4 separate regions of the Homo sapiens genome follow, and all the other regions are linked to region 1. The links are contacts of gene promoters, found by promoter capture Hi-C in blood cells and fetal thymus (Javierre and others, 2016). All regions are on one chromosome and are shown on one strand. Each heading gives the region's core, a stretch centred on a gene start or on the middle of the fragment in contact. The rest is flanking DNA. Distances are from core to core; before and after follow the strand shown.

Region 1 (6,348 bases), core at 3,749-6,248:
GGCTTGAATGATTTCATCTTCATGGCAACTCTGTGAAATGGCTGGCATTCCTGTTTTACAGGTGAGAAAATCAAGGCTCAGAGAAGTCATGTGACTGGCCCAAACAGGTATCACAGTCTGGACTCATATCCACTCAGATCCATGAATTTGCCTTTGTCCTGCCCAGCTGGTGTGGTAGAAAGGGCAGGGCTCAGAATCTCTGATCTCACTTTGTAGGTGCAGCTTGAAGGATCAGCAAAATCTTTCCCCAGTTTCCTCTCCCTGTGGAAACCCTGCTCCACTCCCAAGGTCTAGTCCAAACGCCAGGTCCTCCAGAGCCTTCACAGTCACCCAGACCTCACTCATGGCTCCTTCCCTGGGATCTCACAAGAAGCCCATTGTGCCTTTGAAGTTCAGATTATCCTAACATGAGTTGCAGCTCAGTTTGTACATGTTTGCCTCCCTTGCTTGGGTCTTAGTGGTCTTTCTGATCCCACTGTGCAGGGCTAACTGGAGATGCCCATTAACCTGTACCTATTCCAGGATTTTTTTTCTTAACGTCTCTTCAAGCCACGCCTCCTGCACCCAGAGATGGAGAGATGGAGGAATCGTTTGGTTTGGGGAGCATGGAGGGTCCCCGAGGACCTGCTGGGGCTGGGTAGAAGTTGGAGTAGTATTGGGAGCTCCATTTAAGACTCATGTACCTCCTCCAAGATTCTGGTCACTGGGTGAATTTCCTGCCTCCAGATGTTTGTAGCTGGCCAGGGTTGAGGGCTGGTGGGGCACCATCTCGACTCTTGGTGGAATGGGCTTTCTGTATGTCACCAAACTCCAGTGCTCCCAAGGGGATCTCCTAGGTCCTTGACAGTACTTGGGGACAAGAAGGGCAGATCAAGGGGGGACAAAAGCAGGGAGGGATCTGAGGGCTCCTGGAAAGGTGTCATCACGTAGAGTGGGGGCAGGTGGGGCTTGTTTTCCACCAGTTTTAGTGGCACCTCCTCCATCCATCTCAATTATGAAATTTTTCCATCCTGAGCTGCTCTGCCAGGCTTATGATAAGACTGGCGTGTGTGTGTGTGTGTGTGTGTGTGTGTGTGTGTGTGTGTGTTTTCTTTCCGCGTTGGAAAAACTCAGATATTCCAAGCAGATTTGTCAGCAATTTTTTTCCCTCAGCCAGAGGGGAGGCTCCAAGCCACAGCCACTTGCATTCCAGCACTAAGCCAGCCCTGGGCCCACTGCAGTGGCAGGAAGCCATGGACTGGGTTACAACAGACCAGCGAGAGCAGGGTGGCCTGGGTGACCTCACAGGCTCTCCCTGCCCCACCCCAGCCCCCACCTGTCTCCTCCTCTGTGCTCTGTGTCTCCCTGTCTTGCCTCTCCTTTCTGCTTCCTCTCCCTGTGCCCTGCTCATCCACTATCTCCCTCTCCATCCCTCTTCATCTCCCCCTCCCTCTCTCCTTTCTCACTCCCACCTCTTATCTCACCCCTCCTCCTCTGTCTCCGCTGAAGAATGAAGGGAAGGGAGCCACACTGCTCCAGCCGCAGTCATTCTGAGCTTCCAAGGAACAGAAACTGAAGCTACTTCAGGTCAGCCTGGCTATTCCTTAACACTTCCCATTGGGGTTGCCTGATTAAGGATCCTTTGTGAGATCGGGGAAAAGAAGCCAGAATTCCACCCTTGAAAAAATCATCCAAGCATGGCTGGGCGCGGTGACTCACGCCTATAATCCCAGCGCTTTGGGAGGCCGAGGCAGAGAGATCACCTGAGGTCAGAAGTTTGAGACCAGCCTGGCCAAACATGGTGAAAACCCCATCTCTACTAAAAATACAAAAATTAGCCAGGCATAGTAGTGGGCACCTGTAGACCCAGCTACTCGGGAGGCTGAGGCAGGAGAATGGCTTGAACCTGGGAGGTGGTTGCAGTCAGCCGAGATCACGCCACGGAACTCCAGCCTGGGGGACAGAGTGACACTCTGTCTCAAATAAATAAATAATAAATAAATAAATAAATAAATAAATAAATAAATAAAAATATAGGCCGGGCACGGTGGCTTATGCCTGTAATCCCAGCACTTTCGGAGGCTGAGGTGGGCGGATCAGGAGATCGGGAGATCGAGACCATGCTGGCCAACGTGGTGAAACCCTGTCTCTACTAAAAATACAAAAATTAGCTGGGCGTGGTGGTGCATGCCTGTAGTACCAGCTACTTGGGAGGCTGAGGCAGGAGAATGACTTGAACCAGGGAGTCAGAGGTTGCAGTGAGCCAAGATCGCACCACTGCACTCCAGCTGGGCAACAGAGCGAGACTCTGTCTTAAAAAAAAATAAATATATAAACATAAATAAAAATCTTTGAAGCAGTTTGGAAGTGAACCCAAAATGACCAGTTGCAGCAATCCTGTGAGGATACTGAAGCAAGGTGGCTCCATGAAAGCAAACGGTGGTTCCAGTAGGAGGGTGGCCTGGCCATGGTTGAGATCCATCCTGTCCTTAGACTGGCTGCCCTGGCCTCAGCTCTCAGGGTGGGTGTGGAGTGGGGTGCCTGGTCCAGTGTACCACGCACTGCCAATTGGCCTCTGTTGGGCCATTCACATGCCCTCTGCAGGATCTTTGTAAACTCTGCCTCAGTGTTCTCAAACCTGAGCTGGTGTGAGAATCACCAGGGAAGCTCATCAATAATACAGATTCCTGAGCCACACCCTTACGGATTGGATTCAGGAGCTGAGTGGGATCCCAGAATATGTGTTTTGAAACCAGGACACCAGTCTCAAGAGAGGAAACTGTGTGGATTCTGGGAGAGAAAGAGAGATATAGCCCTGTAGCGCCCTGCCCTCCAGAACTGACTGTACTTCTTGCCTGGGTTCCTGGGACAGGCCCCCTCATCCTTCCAGTTAGGCCCCCTTTTAGCTTGGATCAGCCTGTTTTAAGAGGCTGCTAGCCATGAATCTGAATGCCACATGGAATCTTCCCAGATATCTGTGACTGATCTGAGCCCCCGACTCAGCCCATACGAGACAAGAACTTGTTTCCTCTACCTACCCTGTGCAGGGGCTCATAGCTGAATGAGGTGGGGAGGGGATGGGGAAGGTGAGCGGAGTATGCAGAGAACTATTGTGTTAATAATACTGTGTTTGGGGCCAGTGCGGTGGCTCATGCCTGTAATCCCAGCCCTTTGGGAGGCCGAGGTGGGTGGATCACCTGAGCTCAGGAGTTCAAGACCAGCCTGACCAACATGGAGAAACCCCGCCTCTACTAAAAATACAAAATCAGCCGGGCGTGGTGGCACACGCCTGTAATCCCAGATACTCAGGAGGCTGAGGCAGGAGAATCGCTTGAATCCGGGAGGCAGAGGTTGCGGTGAGCCGAGATAGTGCCATTGCACTCCAGCCTGGGCAACAAGAGCAAAACTGCGTCTCACATAATAACAATAATAATAATAATATTGAGTTTTAGGCACTTTATGCACATAGCTAATCTATTCCTACCCACAACTTTCCACTCACCACACGGGCACCGAGGAGTAGTATCTTTAAAATACCAGTTGGACTTGACCTAAAACCTCTCTGTGGTCCTCTGGGGTAAAGTCCAAGTTCCTCAGTGTGGCCTGCAAGGACCTTTTGGACTGGCTCCTCCCTTTCCACAATACCAGCATCCTACTTTAACCTACTCTCCAGTCATATAGAAATACTAGTAGCTCTTCCCATGCCTGTGCCACTGCTGCTCCCACGGCCAGGAATGCCTCCCACACCTTCTTTGCTAGGTATCACCTGCTCACCTGCTAAGACCACTTTGGATTCACCTGTTCTCAGTCACTCCCTGACACTTAGGAAGTTTCCCAGCCTGACCTAAGCACCCTCCCCTGTGAGGATGGTGACTCAGGACCACACTGGATGTTTGCATTCCTAGCATAGCACCTCCTCCATGATGGGAAGCTATCTGTGGCATACCTGTCTTCCCCCATAGAGGTGAGCTCCCCATGAGCCAGAAAGGTGGCTTAGTCACCTCTGTAGTTCCAGCATCCCGTGGGCCTGGTACACTGTAAGGGCTCAGATCATGTCTGGTGAACTGAATGGGCTCTTTTCATTTTAAGTGTTATGTTAGGAATCACTGCAGAGAATGGAGAGGTACATTAAAGAGGTCTTCAGACACCTGAGGATCTTATGGGTTGTTCTGGGTCTTGGTCCAGTTCCTCATTTCCTACTGAGATGGAATCAGCAGCTCTGCAGAACCTCAGATCCAGGGAGGCACTGATGTCAGCAGCTCTGCCTTGCATAGAAATGAACTGAAGCCACTGGGCGTGGTGGCTCACGCCTGTAATCCTAACACTTTGGGAGGCCAAGAAAGGAGGGTTGCTTGAGCTCAGGAGTTCAAGACCAGCTTGTGCAACATAGTGAGACCTCATCTCTACAAAAAATATAAAATTAGCTGGGTGTGGTGGTGCACGCCTGTAGTCCCAGCTACTTGGAAGGCTGAGGCAGGAGGATTGCTTGGTCCTACAGTGAGTAGTAGTGGTGATCGCTTGATCACTACAGTGAGTCGAGGCTGTAGTGAGCCAAGATTATACCATTCCACTGCAACCTGGGCAACAGAGCAAAACCCTGCCAAAAAAAAAAAAAGAAGGAAAATTAAAAAAAAAAAACAACTGAACTGAAGCCTTTGAGTGAGTTTGTCCGCCACATCTCATAGGCTTTGCTCATGAGATCATACAGCCTGGATCATATCATCTCCCAAAAATCTGTATTTGGCATTCAGGGATCCCCTGGCTCCTTCACTGAGCTCCACCAAGCACATGGGGTTTTGCAAGCTGTTGCTGCCAGGGAAAACCCATTGTGGGACTTCCCTGAAGGGCCACTCATGGGCTGGAAGTGTTGGCCAGAAATTCAGGCCAGCAGAGTGGACGAGAGGTGGTCTAGTACCCAGGAACATCAAGGCGGCAGCTGGTCTCTGAGGCCCCAGGACTTGAACCCCTGGGCTTAAGTGACTCCACGGGCTTGAGGCCCAAATAACAAACACAAAGCCACTTGGACCTGATGCAAGGAAACAACCTCCAGCCACCTTCCCCCAGGCCTTTAGAGTGCTGGTCTTTGCACAGAGAAGCACCACAGAGGACAGAAGCCTCCAGGACTCACCCTTCCCCATTTCTGGCCCTACCAGGTGAGTAGAGTGGCCTCAGGATGTGGGGGCTCCCATGAAGATGGACAGGAAGGATCTCTGGGGTTATTTCCAGTCAAGCATAATGCTGTCTTCACGCTTCGAAGCACACAGTGGGGCTTCCCACTCGTCTCTCTCTCCTACTGGGGCTACCTTACTGCATTTCCCCTTCCCCTTCCTTCACCCACCCAGGTAGGTGGGTAGTCCAGCTCTGGTTTATGGGAAGGCTGGAGGTAAATTTGCAAGCAGTTTGCAAAAGTCAGAATGCCTTGCCCAGGCACCACTCTAGATTCTAGACAAAATGAAGGAATGCTTAAAATAACCCATAATACTATTCAAACCCACTATTTAGGACATAGCCTAGGTTTTGAATAGCTGTGGAGATGGGAAAAAAGCAGTAGCCACTTAGATGGTGGGTTTGAAGGAAAAAAAAAAAGAAGAATACCTTTCTCCCTAAGTTCCAGGCCCCTCACACAGCTTTCCAAATGATGCGGGGGCAAGAGAATGGAAGGAATGGGAAGGCACCCCTTGGGTTCTTCCTTGAAATTAGGGCCCATTTAGGGGAAAGGCAGAAATCAGGACATGACCAATTCCCACCCCCATTTCCCAGCACTTCTCACAGATCCCCGCCCAGACCCCACTTGGTTGCCAAGCACACCCAGCTGAGAGCCCTGCCTTGCAGACACAGCCCAGGGAGAGCCACCAGAAACAGAAGCAAAGGCCACATTTATTCCACTTCTTGAAGGTGCAGGCCTTGGACCTGCCCAGACTCACAGTCCTGGCTGCATGTCCCAGGACCAGCTGGAGCCTCAGAGAGTGAGGGAGAGCCAAAGGGGCCCCAAGACACTGGCACTGGCCTTGGCCACCCATTTTCTCAACTTTAGGCTCAGTCAGACCAAGCATAGAAAGAACAGGAGGCTCTCTATGTTGCCTGAGGCTGGCAGTGGTGACCCTCAGAAATCACAAGGGAGCGGAGAGAGCTGTGTTCAACATGAAACGCTTGAAGAGGAAGGAAGACTGTGATGAGGTCGTTTGACCTACTGCCCTGGGGAAACCCCAGGAGGCCTCCTCTCCTGTTGGCTAGGGAGTGAAGTCCTATAAACCAGAGGGAGTGGGAAGGCGTATGAGAGCTTCTTCTCCCCACGGCCCAGCCATGGGCATGGAGGAGCAGTACCTGAGCCTAGAGAAGATAGAAAGGTCAGCCAGGCAGTTGCTGCCA
Region 2 (6,348 bases), core at 1,960-4,459, 220 kb before region 1:
TTATACACTGTGATTTGTGCTGCAAAGGAAAGAAATAAGATGCTGCCACAAAAGCAGCAATGGTTTAAGGGAGAATCCTTCTCATCTCTCAAAATTACAGACAGCTGCTTATAGGCTGGAGCAAGATGTCACACTTCTCAATTAGCCCAGCTTGGAAGCATAAGAGGTGGCAGATAGAGCAATCTTGGCTGAACTACTGACGTTCCTCTACATTGATTGGGGAAGAGAGTATGTCCTCCTTTCAGAGCCTCTGCAAAGCTCAATGAGGAGTGACGATGGTTCTCCCCTAGAACCATGATCTAAACATAAATCTAACAACAGGTTTTAAAAGCCTTAGAAGGTTGATGAGATAAAGATATCACACAGACCCTTCACGTGGGTGCACACATTCCCAAACATTTGGTTGGGAGGCAAAAGCAAGTCTCTATTTGTTATTAATGTTCATTAATATGATGGGGAAAAGTCCCTACCCAAAACAAAGCTAAAACTTACAACGGGGAATCCCAGTACCAAAAGCCTTAAAACAACCACGCGTCACTGCCCAGAAGATGGGGCCTGGCTCGACTGCGGGCCACTGTGCCTGTCGGCCCCCTCTCCAGAGCTGTCACAGGCAGTCACAAAAGCCTAGGGCTCAACAAAAAGTCAAGAGGCCTAAAAATCGCACTGTAGATGACAAATCTTTAAAATATTTCCAACACATGATGGATAAAAGGCTAACTTAACTCAGGCAAATCAATTGTTGAAGATCAACAACCTAATATAAAAATGGCCAAACGATAAGAACAGGCAGTTCAAAGCAAGAGAAACACAGATGGCTGAATGGAAGACACTCAGTGTAGCTCAAAGAGAAATGTTTATAAAAAAGATGATAATTTCACCAGACTGGCAAAAAAAAAATTTTAATGTTTGACCAAAATAAAACTCCCAGGTTTATGCAAAGATCTGGGGAGAAAAGGCACTCTCTTACACATTCAGTTGGTAGAGAAATAAACTAGTATTTTTGGGGAGGTATTTGGCCATGTCTATCAAAATTGTAAATGTTCAAACCTTGGACCCAGTAATTACCCAGCAAGAAACCATCCTACACATTATATTCATAAAGCATTTTAATGGCAAAAAAACTGGTAATAACCTAAATGCCTACCAATAAGAGGGTGGTCAGATAAATGAAATGACAGCAAATCCATACAATGGAAAACGTGCGGTGTCGTAGAAGAAAGAGGCAGCTCCCCATCCACGGCGACGGGGAGAGCAGGATGCTATTAAATGGGAAAGCAGATAAGGACCAAGATGATATAATACTTTGGCTTTATCTTTAACATCCTATTTTTTTTTTTTTTTTTTTTTTGAGATGGAGTCTTGCTCTGTCGCCCAGGCTGGAGCTGCAGTGGCATGATCTTGGCTCACTGCAAGCTCTGCCTCCCGGGTTCACGTCATTCTCCTGCCTCAGCCTCCCAAGTAGCTGGGACTACAGGCGCCCACCACCATGCCTGGCTAATTTTTTGTATTTTTTAGTAGAGACAGGGTTTCACCATGTTATTCAGGATGGGCTCGATCTCCTGACCTCGTGATCTGCCCGCCTCGGCCTCCCAAAGTGCTGGGATTACAGGCGTAAGCCACAGCGCCCGGGCAACATCCTAATTTTTTAAACAGAACTGCTTCCACCTTACTTAAGTAGCTTTTAAAGTATATTCATAAAGACAAGAAGCAAACACACCTAAAAGTTAATTAGTGGTTAATTATAAGTGGTAGTAATATGGATGACATTTTCTTCTTTTGCATATTTTTTAAATTTTCAAAAACAAAAAAGTACTGAACAGAATATATAGCATAATCCCATTTCTATAGTTTTGTTGTTATTGTTTTGTTTTTTAGGGAAGAGGGGAGAGGATATATGAAATTGTAGATGTTTAAGTTTTTTTCTGGAGGAATTTACCTCCCCTGCAAAAAAAAGGTAGCAGTGTTGACTACTGGGGAATAGGTACTAGAGAGAGGCGTGTATTTTTTTTTCTTTCTGTTTTATATCTCTATGTATTGTTTGAACCTTTACCATCTGAATGAAATTTTTTAAAAAAAATTAAGTAAAAGGGTTTGGGTTCTGAGGTGCAGTATGATTCAGGTCTTATATTTGAACCCCTGGCCTGAGACAGTGACAGAGATGTGCCCCAAATGTAGGCCAACCTTCCTGCTAGAGGCAGGAGAGCACAGATGAGAAATTTCACACTGGCCACAGGAGGAAGAGAGGCCTTGCATAACTCTAGGTCAGAGGCCACACTTGACCAGGCCTGGCATCTTCCCAGAGGATGTAACCCTAAGAATTGATAAGGAGCGAGCAGAGGCCCCAAAGCCCCAAACCACTGCTGCAAGCCACTTCTGACTTATATGGACATGAACACTGCACACAGCAGTGATGTCAACCACACAGGAGTCTTGGGTAGGAAACTGAAAGATGGGGACAGAGATATTTCTTCTGTTTCTTCCAGCAAATGGCACTGAAAGAGAAAGAGGAATTTTCATTTCAACCGCATCAATTATGTACCAGGTGCACTTTATATATAGCAAATATTGCTATATTTAAGCTTCCTAGCAGCCCTACAGAACAGGATCCATTGCTGACTCCATCGTACAGGTGCGGCAACCAAGGCCCAAGGAAGTATTAATAATTTGCCCAAGGCCACATGGCTAGTAGGTAATAAAGCCAGGACTCAGACCCAATTCAGATCTAACCTTTTATTCACAGCAAAGGAGGCTTTGACAAATAAACCCTGAGCTGGTAATATTAGTTTACCGCTGGCCTCTCTCGTCCCCTCCTAAGTGACTCGTCTTTGCTCTGTTCACAGGCCTGCCCTATTCGCATCAGGCCTGGGGCCAGAGCCCAGTAGAGAAGAGTCACAATAAACACTTACCAATTAAATGGGCAGACTGTACACCAGAACAAGATACAAGGCATCTTTCCCTAGGAGACCAGGCAGACAGTGGTAGGAAGGAAACACCCTAAATGTTCCAAGTTGGCTTTAAGCTAAAATCCAAGTGGCAAGAAGAGAAAGATCATGTTCTTAGTAGTATCTAGGTATCTAGTATCTACTTTAAAAAATCCACAGAGATGGACAAACTAGCAAGAGAAAGTAAGACGGAAGGAGGTCAGGAACACTGCGCCTCTGGCCTAAGCAGCCCCCATGCATACGACCCTGTGCGGCTGCCAAAGCAAATCTAAAATTTTACTTTGAAGCGACAAAAGCAATCTCACCTTCATCACCCCAGCTGAGCAGAATGAGACTCACAGCAACGTATACCTGAGTCCACAGATCTCACAGGGGGTGGAGGAGAGTTGACAGAGAATGTGGAGGAAGAGAAGGATCCTACAAATCAAGAGGGCGGCCCACACACACACATCCCCCACCCAGTACACAATTCCACACGCCTAAGACTGGAGACAACTGGGTGAGGAGAGAAGGAAAAAGAACCGGAAGATAGATGATTGTTATGGTGACACACAGCAGACTACATGGCCAGGGAGAAGACAGGAACCACTCTTTCCTACACAGTGAGAGAAATGGCCCAGACACAAGAGTGAGTTCAAGCCACCAACACAAACACAAGGTCACTGTGAGAGAGAAGTCGAGGTCATGCCTTCTGCTACGAGCAGGGCACCTGATAAATAAATTCTCACTCTACATTACCTCTCACACAGCTGAAGATACAAGGAAGGGAACTATTACCCTGAACTTACTTCTGGCCAGGAAGAAAAACCTAGTAAATTATGTTTAAAAAAAAAAAAAATACTTCAGCTAGCAAAAACAATAATAACAAGAACACCACATTGGGAGGAAGTAAGCTTGTCAATTCAGAGTTCAAAGGAGGGAAATTAAAAAAAAAAAAACTGAGACAAAAACAGTTGTTTAGCCTAGACTTCAAAAAAACCAATATTCAGGTCAGGCGCAGTGGATCACACTGAAATCCCAGCACTTTGGGAGGCTGAGGCAGGAGGATGGCTTGATGACTAAGAGGATACAAAAAGGAGAAGGAGGAGTTCAAGACCAGCCTGGGCAACACAGGGAGACCCCGTCTCTATGAATAATTTAAAAAATTAGCAGGGCATGGTGGCACTAGCCTGTGGCCCCAGCTACTCAGGAGGCTGAGGCAGGAAGATCACTGAGCCCAGGAGGTCAAGGCTGCAGTGAGCCAATGATCGTACCACTGCACTTCAGCCTGGGCAACAGAGTGAGACCCTATCTCAAAAAAAAAAAAAAAGAAAGAAAGAAAAAGAAAAAAAAAACCAATATTTAGATGTTGAGACCAAGGAGTATGATGGGCAGAGATCCCAAAAGGGAATGCATTTTGAAAGACAAGGTCCAAGTCTCTAAAAAGTGAATTCTGATCATCTAAAACACAATAATCGCTTAAAGAAGAAACCAGGAGGAGGCAGCCACAAATGTCAGGGAGAAGTGAAGAGCTGAGACAGTAAAGGATGTGTGCAAAGACACGAGCAACTGCCCATGAGCCAGGACAGGCCCGAAGGGAGTAGTCTGCGCTCACTAAACACAACAAGCAGAGCTTGTGAAAATGCTAGGAGCATGTCTTCAAGCTACATCCAAAGCCATAAGAAGAACCAGGGAGGAAGTGGCCCTGGGATGGGGACAGAGACTCTAACACACAAAATGACAGAGAATGGAGAATTTTCATCTCCAGTATTTCCCATCTTTTCTATGAAGGAGAATGCTCCACAGACTAGAACAAGCTAAACATTTACACACATGCTCTCTCTCAAGAGAAGCCTCAATTCTAAGCTAGACCATAAACCAACTTACAATCACCCAGAATTACATCCCAGGATGCAGAAGGAAAGTACAGGTTGATTCCAGAACCACTGCTGGCAGTGGTTCAGGAGCTGAGGGGAGAGGAGGTGGCAAAGATCTGCTTTCTGGCAGCACACATTCTCTCGAAACCTGGTACCCACAATGCTCCAGGCACTAGACCAAGCTCACAGGGCTTCAAGGTTCACAGTCTAGCCAAGAGGGAAAAAGAAGCAATATGTAAACAAAACTGTTAATAAACTATGATGACTAAGAGGATATAAAAAACTGGGGGGTTGGGACTTCTTTTTTTTTTTTTTTTTGTGACCGAGTTTCACTCTGCTACCCAGGCTGGAGTGCAATGGTGTGATCTCAGCTCACTGCAACCTCCACCTCCCAGATTCAAGCAATTCTCCCACCTCAGCCTCCCGAGTGGCTGGGATTATAGGCTCCCACCACCACACCCAACTAATTTTTTTTTTTTTAAGTAGAGACAGGGTTTCACCATGCTGGCCAGGCTTAGTTTCGAACTCCTGACCTCAGGTGATCCGCCTGCCTCAGCCTCTCAAAATGCTGGGATTACCAGCATGAGCCACTGCGTCCAGCCGGCACTTTTGTTTGTTTAAAGGGAAGGGGACAAATAGGATAAACTCCTCAACATCTGCCTCTGGAAAAGCTCTAGAACAAATCATAATCTGAACCATCACAAGCTACCCTGGGTCGCTTAAGAGGCCACAGCAAGCTAGTCTCGTTTCCTTTTTAGCAGAGTTTACTGAATTATAGACCAAAGGAATGCCAGACGCAAGGGGTCTGGACCTCTATGAAGTATATGAACACAGTCTCCTGCCCAGACCTTAGGGATGACAAAGGAGGAGGCAGTGAGATGACAAAGCATTTAGATAATATTTGCAGTTGTTATAAATGGCCAGTAATAAAGTGCTGTTTGGTGGATCTAGGACAGGCTGCTGAACAGGCACCAAACTGAACTCACGGCCCCTTTGAATTTGCTCCCGGATCTCAGTAAACGGCAATGACATCACTATCTAGCCAGGCTCCCAGATATAAATCTTGAGTACTCATCCTCAGACTCTCTCCCTCCGTCACCCACAGAAGCAATCCAATTTTGTCTCTGGGAAGATCTCCCAAATCCATCTTTCCTTTTCCAGTCCTGCTATCGCTTACTGGGTTGCAGCCCCTTTTCTCTTGTGTGCTTTCTCTTTTTGAGACAGGGTCTCATTCTGTCCCCCAGGCTGGAGTGCAGTGGCATGATTTCAGCTCACTGCAAACTCCGCCTCTTGGGTTCAAGCAATTCTCCCACCTCAAGCACCTGACTAGCTGGGACTACAGACATACACCACCACGCCTGGCTAACTTTTTATTTTTTGGTAGAAACGGGGTTTCACATGTTGGCCAGGCTGGTCTCAATCTCCTGACCTCAAGTGATCTGTCCACCTCGGCCTCCGAAAGTACTAGGATTACAGGCATGAGCCACCATGCCTGGCCTACTCTTCTGTGTTTTCTAACTGGTTTCTAGAAGGGAGACGTACTCCATCCC
Region 3 (6,348 bases), core at 2,766-5,265, 150 kb before region 1:
GATAGCACATGATGAAAGAGTACATCAATAACTCTGAGGGTAGATGGTAGGATAGAATACTAGAAGATGAGCAGGTATTAGGTGGATTAGCCAATTTTCCATATTGAAAGAAAAAATGAGGCTGGGCACGGTCGCTCACACCTATAATCCCAGCACTTTGAGAGGGTAAGGCACATGGATCACTTGAGCCCAGGAGTTCAAGACCAGCCCGAGCAACATGGTGAAACCCCCTCTCTACAGATATACAAAAAATTAGCCAGGCATGGTAGCACGTGACTGTAGTCCCAGTTACTCTGGAGGTTGAGATGGGAGAATCACCTGAGCCTGGGAGGTTGAGGCTGCAGACAACACTGCGCCACTTCACTCCAGCCTGGACGACAGAGCGAGACTCTGTCTCAAAAAGAAAAAATAAAGAAAAAGAAAAAATGACTTGGGGAATGAAATAAAAATTCTAACCCAACTCTCACCGTGTCAGAAACAACTTGGAAATTAAAATTTGTCAATTTAGAACTCAGTAAGTCACCTAACCTAACCAGTTTGACTGAAATGACTAGAAGAAAAATGGCTAAAGAACAATCCAGTAACTGAGGAAGAGACAGTCTGAATTTCTGTACTAACTCTGATCCAATTCAGTCACTCATTGCTATGGCTGGGCAGGGATCCAAGTGAAACTTTTAACAGTGGCCAATAAGGTGGCATAGAGTTACTGCCTCTAAAAACCACAACTTGTCCCTAAGCTTGAAACCCAACCATAAACTTCCTCAAATCCATGTGGACGAGCACCATGTTTTTAAGCAGCCCACTCTCCTCAAACTTGAATTGGCCTGCAGAAGACAGGTATGCCAACTTCAATGACTCTGCTCTGCATCACTCTCTCGGTTGCCAAATTGAGGCAGAAACATCCATTTGCCTTCCTGTAGCTTTCTAAAATCTGTCTACAGTGTAATGAGTTGTCTATACACTTTCCCTTAGCCCAGTTTCAGTAACCTTGTAGTCCATTCGATACACAGAAATAGAGCACGCACCAACCTCAGCCACAGGCCCCTTTCTCTCCCAAGTTCAGGCACAGTACTGGCTAGAACTCTCACTAAAAACACAAACACCAAAACACAGTGTACATCAGATGCATATGGGGTAGTAATGCTTTTAACAGTTTGCTTACAGGAGCAGTTCTTCAACACTGATAACAACTGGCAAAACAACCTCAACATATGCTCTGCCTAGATAATGCAGGAGATCCTTAAATTTCTCCAAGTTAGAAAATTCAGGACAACAGCAATATGGTGTTAGAGACTTCAGATCTGTGTCAATCAGATATAGCCTTGCTGCCACCTAAAGATGTGCTCGCCACCCCACACATGGCTTTAGCAGCAGTTCCAAAGGCCAATGCATTCACTCTTGGAAGACAGTGTCAGCTGTCTTGACACTGCTGCTGGCTACATTTAACCAACTCTATGATGTGGTACCAGAGCCCAAGAAATACATCAAGCCAGATCATTCTGTCCAAACATCCCAAGGAAACATGTGCCTTGGACAGCACCTGAGTGGGAACAGGCTGCTAATGTTGATATAAAATGCAAAATAGTAAAAGTAGCATTTTCTCTAATTTACTATTCAGTGAGAAACCCATGCAGAAATCCAATGCAGCAAATTGTAGAGGTTCAATGCTCCCTGATCTGCAGTTAAGCCAGGTGTGCCACCTCCTTCATCTGACTTGGATCCTGCTCTGGACTTCAAGGAAACATCTACCTGGCTAGCAGTTCAAGGACTCGATATAAAAATAACTCATGCTTTGTTTCAACTGGAGGGTCATGACACTGTTGGGCCTACAGGAAAACCATTCATAAGTCAATGTAAGCTCATATCTACTGAAAGAGTAGATTTGAGTTTTTTGAGTAGATATGAGCTTTTACACCCTAAGTTACAATGAAAAGATTCACTGAAGAAGGATTCAATCATGCTGTACTACTTCCTGGAGTTGGCAGAGAAATCATCCATTTCTTGGTAGTTGAAAGAAGGCTGATCCAAGAACACAGTGAAGAGATGTTCCCATTTCTCAAGGTGTTTCATCTTCCTGGCCATGATGATTTAGCACCTGCAAAATTCCCAAACCTACGCAATGTGGTTAATGCGGGGAAGCAGACATTGGACTACCAACTTCCAAAGAGTCACTATCTCGACTAGCAGATCATGAGGTAGATGAGGCAGTTTCAAGACCTCCCTTGAAGAAGGCAGTGATGAATAAAGAAGAGGAGGATGGGTTATGAGCAGCATTTAGTGTGACATCTGAAGAGATCAAGATGCCACTATCAGACAAGAAAACCAATAACCAGACTAATTTCACACAGCTTCTTCAGGCAATGGAATCAAGAGATAGGATGCAGACTTAGAAAAAAAGAAAGAAAATTCAGCAGGAGTTAGAGGGATCTAAAGGAGTTGTATATTTATTGCCTTCTGTAAACCAGGAGTAAAGGAGATAATTAAGGTTTTAAATAATCCAGTTTCTTAGTCACCAAAAGTACCAAGACTTCCTCCTATTAATGAGGCTGAAGGCTCAGTTTAAGCTGTTCTCTGCCATCTGGCCCTTGTACTTGGGAGACTAAAGCCACTGTGGACATTTAAATGAGAGAGATTTGCACTCTCTCATTTTTCACAGCCTATGCTACAGCAATCATGACTACTTTTGGATAAAACAAAAGTTCCTTAAATAATATACTCATGGCATTTTTATTTTCTTTTCTTGTTCCTACACTGCCCAACAAAAAGAGTCTCTTCCAATGTCATTGAGTTTGCACCACATTCTAGAATAATAAATGGAACTGGATCATTCTGAGAACTATATTGTAAAAAGCAAATATTCTACTTTAAAGAACACACTTTTTTTGGTTTGTTTTTTAGACAGAGTCTCACTCTGTTGCCTAGGCTGGAGTGCAGTGGCATGATCTCAGCTCAAGTGATCCTCCCACCTCAGCCTCCCAAGTAGCTGGGATTACAGGCATGTGCCACTAGGCCTGGCTAATTTTTGTATTTTTTGTAGAGGCAGGGTTTCACCATGTTGCCCAGGCTGGTCTTGAACTCCTGGGCTCAAGGAATCCACCCACCTCAGCCTCCCAAAGTGCTGGGATTACAGGCATGAGCCACTAATACCCAGCCAAGAGCACACATTTAGGATAGAACTTGAGCATACTTTTGTTCTGGAAGAGGACAGAAATAGAGCAAGGGACAGGAAACAACAAACAAAACCCAGTAGCAGTGAGTTAGCTTCTGTCCCGTCTCCACCCTTGTAAGTAGGACACTGGCTTAACAATTAGTTTTATTATCAGCCCTCACTGTTTAAATCTTAGCAGAGAAAAAGAAAAGCTGTTGAAGAGAATAAAATTAAGAAACATAAAAAGGGAAAACTTGATTATCACCAGTTTCTGGATTTTTAGTTTTCTTCTTCTAACTGAAGTTCACTCAGATCTAGGGAATAGCATTAAGCTTAACGTGAAAGTGGGGGGAAAAATGTGGCACATTGAAGTGGCAGGTAGCTGTAAAGAGAAGAGGGAAGCATTTTTAAACTGTAGTAAGGTTTATCCGAGAGTGATTACTTTTATAAGGAAGAGATTCTATGAAAATGCAGCAAGGAGGCTGGTCCGTGGAGTACCACAAAGCTGGGGAACTGCAGTTTTCATGCTGATTCTCTATCTTTACCACTCTGGGTCAATTGTGGCAGAGAAGCTGTTTTATCTTCCTTGGGCATGGGAGAGGAAAGGAGGAGGGATGCATATGACTCAGTTTTTAAATCAGTACCTTACAGGGTTATTTAGTAAAGTGGTAAGGCTTCTGTAAAATGCTTTGAGTGACTAGGAAACAAATCAGAGGCAAAATAACAACATAAAATAATAACACCAAACATCAGAGAACTGAAGGGAAGAGGAGCGAGTCACTGAAAACCAGGGACACCAGTTGTCCAGGTCACCAACAGCTTCCTGGTGCTCCCCCACCCCACAGTCTGCTGTGAGCTCTTTCACCTAGAATGAGCCTAGAGAATGGCCTAGTGGGGCAAGGGACCTAGCACTGGCTCTCAGCCACAACTAACACCACATCCCAAATTACCCCTCCAGAACAGATGCCGAGGGACACTAGAAGCGAGGAGTAGTTGGGATACTTTTGCTACACCTTCTATCTTGAGAGAAAGAGATTTAAACCAATAGTATAATACATCAGTTGAAATACATCTGACGATAATAACAAAGATGCATTGACCTATAAAAAGTCATTTAATGCATATTCCAGATGGCCAATACAAGCTGGTTAGGTAATTAGCCCTTGAAGAATTCTTTTATAATCATATAAAAATGTTTTGTCTTGTTTAAAAAAAGTCTACTCTAACAAAAACATCCACCAATGGGCTTGCATTTTTTCCATTTGCAGGTTTGTAAGATCATAAAAATATACACATATGCATCTCTGGGCATATCTCTGTCCACTAGCTAATCAGTTTTGGCAATACACTGCATAGGGGTATACTACCATTGGTTTCTGACATTAAGTTAGCTTTAAGCTTATTGGCTATTCCAACAACTGGAGGCAGCTTAGAACCCAATCCCTGGAAAGCACTTGCAGGATTAACTACCCGTTTCCCTGACACCTTGTCTATGGTGGTGAGAGGTCTGGGGACAGACTTGCTAATCCAAGGGTGTCTTAATGCTTGAGCTGGGGTCAAGCGGGCAGAGGGGTCCCAGTGAAGACACCTTTTCAAGAACTCTATAAACAAGTAGTCATCACACCCTTTCAGTGCTGTCCCCCAGTCTTTGCTGCCTGGGGGACCCCGCTTTTTACCCCTACGTGAGCGACCCCCCACAAGCACAACCCTCCCATCTGCCTGGGTAGTCACAGAGCAGTAGCGGGGTATGCCCTTGGAATTAATAAAGTACTTGGCACGTTTGGATTGCTCCAGAAGTTTTGGTGGTGGCATCCCTAGAAGCTCCATCATGCAGGCCAACTGGTCTCCTTCATCCTCTCCAGGGAAGAGAGGCTGTCCTGTTAAAAGTTCTGCAAGGATGCAGCCAAAACTCCATATGTCAATTGGTGTGCTGTAGCGGCTTCCTAAGATGATTTCTGGAGCTCTGTAGAACCGAGACTGGATATATGTGTAGAGCTTCTGGTACTCGAAACAGCTGGACCCAAAGTCAATGACCTTGGTTGAACTGCGCCCGTGGTGTTTCAGGAGAATGTTTTCTGGCTTCAGATCGCAGTGAATAATCTTATTTTTGTGGAGGGCATCCAAAGATTGCAAGATGGACTGGGCAAACTTGCGTACCAACTGGACGCTAAAACCCTGAAACTTATTTTTTTTAATCAGCTCATAAAGGTCTATGCTCAGCAATTCAAAGGCCATGCAAACATGGTTCCGGAATGTGAAACTTTCCAGCATGTGGATAACGTTCATACTACCAGTTTTATCCTGTTTCTTAAGATGCTCCAAAATCCGGATCTCCTCAGCTGCTTGACGATGAAAGCGCTTCTCATTGCGCACCATTTTTAGGGCCACGTACTGTCGAAGTTTGTGATCATAGACCCTGGCCACCTGCCCAAAACTCCCCTTGCCAATAATTTTCAGCACCTCATATCGATAAGCTAGATGGTCTCGAGGTACATGAATATAGGCCCCATCTGCATCATCATACCCTCCATTATTGGGACCACCAATAACTCCATGTCTTTTCTTGGCATTTGGACCTACAAAGTAAATTTCTGGATAATTAATTATTTCCAGTTTCTCATAGGCAGTGAGGTGGTGTTTATATTGCTTCAGGGCTTGTTCTGGAGTCAGAGGCACCACTTTGGGTGCCTTGGATGAACTGTTGGATTTTACTGTATTCAAGCAATCTGAACTTTTACCCTGAGAAACAGTAGGAGAGCATTTTTCAGAGTCACTGATGCCATCTGACTGAATAGTATTGGATTTTCTGTTGCCAAATTCTTGAAACAGCTGTTCTACCTTCATCTCACCTCCATCCAAAAAGTGCTGAGTATGATCTCCTGTAAACTGCTCAGTGGTCATCTATGAAAGAGAAAATGAATATAAGTCATTAAAAACATTAGAAAGATGGAAGAATCCTCCCTCCTCCAACTGAATAACAACAAAACATGTCCAGTCATGTTTACTTTAAGGTTAAAATGACCCAAAAAGAAGATAAGAAAAGCAAGAGTCTCTAGCAACTTGTGTTATATTAATTTTCAGACTCCCTGAATATTGCGGCCATCCCTAACCCCCATACATGCCTTGCTTTGTTCAAGACAAGATGATCTTACCATGCCCCCCACATGCCAGGTTCCTTCTTACAGATGTGTCCTTGTACT
Region 4 (6,348 bases), core at 1,961-4,460, 140 kb before region 1:
GGAATGCTCTTTTTAAAAACATGCTCACATTCTGATAGAATTATTTATATTTTTAACAGGGAATGGCTTCACCAACAGAAACCAAATATTCTGGATGTGACTGACCCTTTGCCATAAGCCTGATAAAACAAACCAGGATAGGCGTCCACATATATAAAGAAAAAGAAAACGTGCAAAATTGCCTAGTGACTAACAGCCAGAGGAAATTAACAAGAGTCTGCATGCAAATAAAGCGGGGAGCAAGGGTCTCTTCTCTCCATTTAGGTGTAAAATACAACGCAAGGTGGGGAATCTCTCAAAATAGGATCCGGAGAAAGCCGTACCCAGCATAGCCCATAACCTGTACATTCGAAGCTAGACCGCACCCCTCACAGCAAACCCCAAGAGTTCAGCCGTTGGTTATCCGCTCTAAGCAACAGGGCTTCTTTCCAAGGTATTGCTCCCGGGCTCCCCCCCTTTAATAAAAAGCCCCACAAAAAGTCCTAGATTTTCGTAATCCCTTAACATATACCCCGATCTAGGGTTTCAGAGGGAATCCAGGGGTGGAAATTCTTCTTGCTCTAACTCCGCTCTAGCCCCGTCCCCCGCGCCCGGTGAGACAGGGATGGGGGGAGGGGGCCCTGATAGAGAGGAGGTGGGGGCGGTCCCGGGGAGGCAGTCAGACCCCTGCCCTCGTCCCTCCTACTGAGGGCTCACTCTACCTCCTCCCCACCCCCAAGCTTCGCTTGCCAGCGCCAGCCGCTCCCTGTGGCGCCTCCAGCCCGTTACCCCGTGGCGCCGTTACCTCCGCTGCTGGGGCGGGAGCCCGGCCCCAGGCGGCCCCGCATCCTTCCGCCCAGGCCCACGAGCTGTGCCTCCCATCTCCTAGCTCGGGACCCCGCGCGGGGAGAGGCGCCAGTTGGGGGTCCGGTCGGCCACGCCACCTACGCCGGGACGGCTGCCTCCGCGGCGCGACGCTCCCACGGGTACTCTCGACCAGACACTGCAGCTCAGCGCACTTTCGCTCCCGACTGGCCCCGGCTGGGAAGTGGGGAGACGCAGCTCCAGGGGCGGGAGGGGGAGCGGTCTGGTCGCCTAGCAACCGCGGCACGCCCCCGGGAAACGCCTCGGCGCAGCTACGGGCTGACGCACAGGGGCGGGGCCCGTGGCCGGTAAAGGCCACGCGGCGCTCCTAGCGGGTGCTAGTACTGGCGCGGGAGGCGGGAGGTTGGAGGCGAGGAGCTCGCGGCCTAGGCTGTTTGGGTCCCTGGCGCGAGCTGTAGACGGAGAGAGGGGTCCGGAGAAGGAGGGGTGAAAGTAGCAGTTAGCCCGCGATCTCAGAAGGGCTGCCCGCCCCTCACGGTCCCTTAATAGCACGTTGCGTCCTGGAAGTTCTAAAACGTCCCGCTTCAATATGAATTTTAAATTAGTGAAAACATATGTGTATTGTTTTAGGCTTTCCCACCGCGGGGACGGCCCTCCGGGGGTTGGTGAGTTACATAAGAAAGCAATAATAATAAACCCATTTATTGACACGATGCTTCCATTTATGAACATTTGATCTCAGTAACGGAGGTACCCGACGACTTTCGTCTTTTACAGACTTAGCTGGGATGCAGAATAGAAGCTGGGCCTTTGTCTGACTACCCTGCAACAGTCAGCCACAGACGGGAAGGCAGCGCAGGAAACTGAGGCCAAAGGAGCCGCGCTTCCTCATGAGCATGAAGCGGCAAAGCCTGAACTAGAAGCTTCTAACGCCTAACCGTCCTCTTGCCGCACCAGGACCTACCTCTGCAAGGCCCTTCCTGACTTTTTCCTTAGAATGTGTGTATATGTGTCTTTTTCCTTTTCTGATGCTAAGACACCTCAGAAACACCAATGTTAAGCAGATTTCCATCGTTGGAGGTTAAAACACCCGAATACAAGTGTTTTCTTGAGTGTGGCATCTGGTCAGATGTTTTATGGGTTGGTTTGTTTTTAAAAAAAAAAAATTTCCTGTTAGATGGGTGGTAAGAACCAGTCAGAGTTTGTAAACCCACCAAGCACGAGGCGGTCGGACCGTCCAGATTCTGGAGTCCAGAAGACACCAAACGTTCTCAGAATGCCGAACGCGGGCGCCACCTGGTGGGACTAGAACGCTTATTGTCCCAAATCAGCATAGCACACAGTTCCCATAAATCTTAAAAATTCCCATCCAAGGCTCATTTCCGTGTGACTAAAAGTCATATTCTCTGTTCTCGTGACTCCAAGTAAAAATGTCCCTAAAGAGCCAAAGTATCTTCACTGTATAAACTAATAATCTATTGGTTTGGGGAATTTTATTTTTTGTGATCAATGTTACTTTAGCCTTTCTATGATATACATATAAATAAAAAAGTTTTCTTCCATGATGATTTTTTAAAGTTTATTTTATAAATAAACTTTTTCTTTTTGTCTCTCCCTTCCCCCACTTTGCAACCAGAGCAATTCTGCTTTCACAGGGGTTTGTATTTGGGCTCTTACGAAGCTTTTGTTTGAAGAAAGAGTTCCATGGCAACGCAAAGATTGGACGAGGTTACTGTTGAAGTCCCTTCCAGCTCTAAGATTGCAAAATTCTATTAAATAATCCCCGTTCTCAGTACTTATGTAGACACCTCAGACCACTTTACTGCCCTCCCTAAACAGTTGAATGAGACTTGCCCCCACATGATTTCTTACCTCATTCTGAATCACTGCTCGTGAGAGGATTGCATCCGCAGTCTGTGCTTAAGACACATCTTCCAGAGCCAAGTGGAAGGGTTCCTGCTCCCTTTCTTGCTCCTAAGGTGGGAAATACAGAGGCCGCCTTTGTCTTTCGCCTATTGTTCCCATGGTCAAGGGAAAGAGGACTCCTCGAGGGTGCTGGAGCTTCATAAATCTCTGACCTTAGTGACCCAATGTTTCTTCAAAGATCCCCTGTATGATGGGGTTAACGTCCCATAAGGGATCTGGCAGGAGCCTCCACACCCCTGCTGAGCGCTGCCCTGTCCCCTCCAGCTCCCAAGCAGCTTCCACATCATTCATGCCCTTTCTTCCCCTCCAAAGCCTCATTCAAGAGTAGTTTAAAATCACCATTATCATTCTCCATGCAGTTAAAGTCAGATTTACCCACCATGAATTAGCCAAAAGTCATATAAGATGCATGTCTGTCCTTTGAAGCCAATTCCAAGACATCTGCAAAATAAGGTACCTGCAAGTTCTAATACATTGACTAAGGAAATAAACAACAGTAAAAAAGATGCAACTATTCCAGGATCTTAAAAACCCACTGGGACATTCACAATGTGATCAAAGTTTCAAATGCACAGATTAAGAAAACATCCCCGTGGCCACATTTACCTGGAATTTTGTGATAAAATAGCTGTTAGTAGGTTATGTTAAGTTTGGACAAGTTTCATTGACATTTCTGTACAGCAAAATGTGCCATAATGCCTACTGTGACATGTGCATCACAGAATTGGAAAATATTTTTTAAAAATCACTGGAGAGAACCAGTGAAACTTACTTTTTTCCTCAAGCTATGTTAACCTCAAATTGACCCGTGTTCCTGAAATGTATACTTGCTATTTTTTTCAGAAACACTGAAATCTAGCTCACTGGAACACTAAAGCCATGGCTTATTTTTCTGGAGCCTCAGAAAACTGTCTCTCTTCTATACCTCAGGCATCTCCTGTTCTTATGCCCTCCCCTCTCCACCAAGATTTGAAAAATGCCCCTTATTAACAAAGCAAACAAAAGCCATGCCCGCAGTGCTGTAGTACAGCTACAACTAAGACACACTTAGTTCTGTGTCTCCTAAACCCTAAAGGTTGTCCTTATTATCACAAACTCTTCACCTATTTTTCTTTTCCAAAACTTTTGCCATCTTTTTCCACTTGTTCCTCCTAAGTCAGCGTGACCAGTTCCACCTATAGCCCTGAGGGGTCCTATGAAGCTTCATTTCTGAAATCTTGAAACCAAACCAGGAGTCTTTCTAATCATCATTACCATTTGCTAAGTATTTATTATGTTCCAAGCACTATCTGAAGCACTTTAACATATTTGCTCATTTAAAACTCACAGTAGTCCCGTGAGATAGGTATTATCTCCATCCTACACTTCAGAAAACAGTCTCAGAGTTTAATAACTTGCCCAAGGTCACCCAGCCAGTAAGTGATGAACTGAAATTCAAACCCTGGTCTGTTTGGTTGAAAAACTCAGCCCCTCGACTGCCTGTATTCCACCTGTATTCCCTGAGCCTGGCAGGCTAGCCCAGGCTAGACCACTGGACCCTTGAATTCTGTGACATAGTTTCTCTTGATTTAAGATTCTGAAGATGGTAAGCAGAATGATAGTTCCCCAAAGATGTCCGCATCCTAATTCCAAGAATCTGTAAATATGTCACTTTACTTGACAAAAAGGGACTTAGCAAATGTGATGAAGTTAAGGATCTTGAGATGGGGTGATTTTCCTAGATTATCTGAGTGGGCCCACTGTAATCACAGGAGTCCTTTTAAGATGGAAGGGGAGGCCAGGTGCAGTAACTCATGCCTGTAATCCCAGCACTTTGGGAGGCCGAAGTGGGCGGATCACCTGAGGTCAGGAGTTCGAGACCACCCTGGCCAACATGGTGAAACCCCGTCTCTACTAAAAACACAAAAATTAGCTGGGCATGGTGGTGTGTGCCTGTAGTCCCAACTACTCGGGAGGCTGAGGCAGGAGAATCACTTGAACCCAGGAGGCTGAGGTTGCAGTGAGCAGAGATCACGCCACTGCACTCCAGCCTGGGTGACAGAGTGAGACTCCATCTAAAAAAAAAGGATGGAAGGGGAAAGCAGGAGGGTCAGAGAGGGAAATGTGACCATGGAACAGAGGTCAGAGAGGGAAAGAGATTTGAAGATGCTGTTGTTGGTCTTGAAGATGGAGGAGGGGGCCGTGAGTTAAGGAATGAAGGTGGCCTCTAGAAGCTGGAAAAGGCAGGGAAACAAATTTTCTTCTAGAGCTTCCAGAAGGAACGAATCTCTGCTTACACCTCAATTTTAGGAGTTCTGACTTCCAGAACTGTAAGATAATAAATTTTCCTTGTTTCAAGCCACTAAATTTGTAATTTGTTGCATTAAAGCTTAGGAACCTTGGGTACTGTAATAGATTAAACATAGCACATCCTTTGCAGCTGTTCCCAGGGAGTAGAGGAAACAATTTTCCTGGTTCTTGAAGCTGACTGGCCACGTGACTTGATTTGACCAATAACACGTGAGGAATTTAGGCGCTTAGGCCTCAGGAGACCCCCCTTACAGCTTCTTCTCTCTTGCTCTTAGATGCTGCCACCATGTGGACAAGTCTGAGCTGGATTTCTGTAGTCCTCAGCTAATACCAATTGCCAGACAAGTGAGGGAAGCCACCTGGCTGAGTTGCCAGCTGACAGCAGCCATATGAGAGTTCCACGTAAAGCTAGCAGAAGAACCTCTTGGCTGCACCCCACCCAAATCAACAGCCCCTTGAGAATTATGAGCAAATAAAATGATTACTTTAAGCCACTAAGCTTTGGGGTATGGCAATAAATAAATGATAGGGGTACTTTTGAAAAATACCAATTATGCCTACCCTCCATCCCACCAGATCTAATGATGAACAGTTTCTTGGTAAGGATCTCTGCTCATATTTTTATTGTGGCTGTTGTTCATCAGCCAGGTTTGGAAATCACTACTGTAGACCTTGGAGACCAAGTCCTATTGAGTCATCTGGCTCATGGAAGGTCTTAGAAGACCAATGCACCTGCTCTATTCACAGCATTTGGGCCAAGGAACTAGTTCTCTCTCAATCACCTAGTGTACAGGTTAGGGCTTTTTCTATTGCAAATATCAAACTAAATCTGTTTAAAGAAAATGTACTAGCCGAGTGCGGTGGCTCACGCCTGTAATCCCAGGACTTTGGGAGGCTGAGGCAGGTGGATCACCTGAGGTCAGGAGTTCGAGACCAGCCTGGCCGACATGGTGAAACCTCATCTCTACTAAAAATACAAAAATTAACCAGGTGTGGTGGCGGGCACCTGTAATCCCAGCTACTTGGGAGGCTGAGGCTGGATAATGGCTTGAACCCAGGAGGTGGAGGTTACAGTGACCAGAGATTGTGCCATTGTACTCCAGCCTGGGTAACAAGAGCAAAACTGTCTCAAAAAAAAAAAAAAAAAAAAAAAGAAAAAGAAAACAAGGAAAAAAGAAAAGAAAATGTACCATATACCTTTTTTACAGTATTTTTTTAAAAGCAGTAAAGCTAAATTTGAATATGATGGGTGCCTGTCCTATCTCCATTTCTTGTTTCTATATTCCAACATGCTAGTTTCATTCTCAGGGTTCTTTTGTGCAAGCAAGA

What was found. The method cuts DNA at HindIII sites, captures the fragments that hold promoters and counts their contacts. A CHiCAGO score of 5 or more calls a contact.
Region 2: a fragment that was not itself captured here is called in contact with the fragment with the promoter of IKBKE-AS1 in region 1 in 1 of 17 cell types (activated CD4 T cells); the score reaches 5.2 in activated CD4 T cells.
Region 3: a contact is called between a fragment that was not itself captured here and the fragment with the promoter of IKBKE-AS1 in region 1, in 4 of 17 cell types (activated CD4 T cells, total CD8 T cells, neutrophils and 1 more). The highest score is 7.7, in activated CD4 T cells.
Region 4: a contact is called between a fragment that was not itself captured here and the fragment with the promoter of IKBKE-AS1 in region 1, in 1 of 17 cell types (activated CD4 T cells). The highest score is 6.3, in activated CD4 T cells.

The regions. Positions count from the first base shown.
Region 1 is chr1:206,496,378-206,502,725 of GRCh38, reverse strand. IKBKE-AS1 (IKBKE antisense RNA 1) reads left to right here and starts at 4,998. Exons shown (of 2, transcript NR_172918.1): 1 at 4,998-5,132. IKBKE (inhibitor of nuclear factor kappa B kinase subunit epsilon) reads right to left here. Exons shown (of 22, transcript NM_014002.4): 22 at 5,837-6,348. RefSeq lists an enhancer at 4,904-5,053. The HindIII fragment of the contact is 9,082 bases long and covers 1-6,348 here.
Region 2 is chr1:206,713,533-206,719,880 of GRCh38, reverse strand. The region is part of intron 1 of MAPKAPK2 (MAPK activated protein kinase 2); the gene reads right to left. Among named protein-coding and RNA genes, the nearest start is that of MAPKAPK2, 32 kb to the right of the region's middle. The HindIII fragment of the contact is 1,256 bases long and covers 2,582-3,837 here.
Region 3 is chr1:206,647,089-206,653,436 of GRCh38, reverse strand. It overlaps DYRK3 (dual specificity tyrosine phosphorylation regulated kinase 3), which reads right to left. Exons shown (of 3, transcript NM_003582.4): 3 at 1-6,049. The coding sequence ends at 4,472. Among named protein-coding and RNA genes, the nearest start is that of DYRK3-AS1, 15 kb to the right of the region's middle. The HindIII fragment of the contact is 1,066 bases long and covers 3,483-4,548 here.
Region 4 is chr1:206,630,217-206,636,564 of GRCh38, reverse strand. DYRK3-AS1 (DYRK3 antisense RNA 1) reads left to right here and starts at 897. Exons shown (of 2, transcript NR_183645.1): 1 at 897-965; 2 at 1,582-2,369. DYRK3 (dual specificity tyrosine phosphorylation regulated kinase 3) reads right to left here and starts at 1,029. Exons shown (of 3, transcript NM_003582.4): 1 at 785-1,029. The coding sequence starts at 861. RefSeq lists silencers at 590-699, 750-1,169 and an enhancer at 5,174-5,243. The HindIII fragment of the contact is 1,446 bases long and covers 2,488-3,933 here.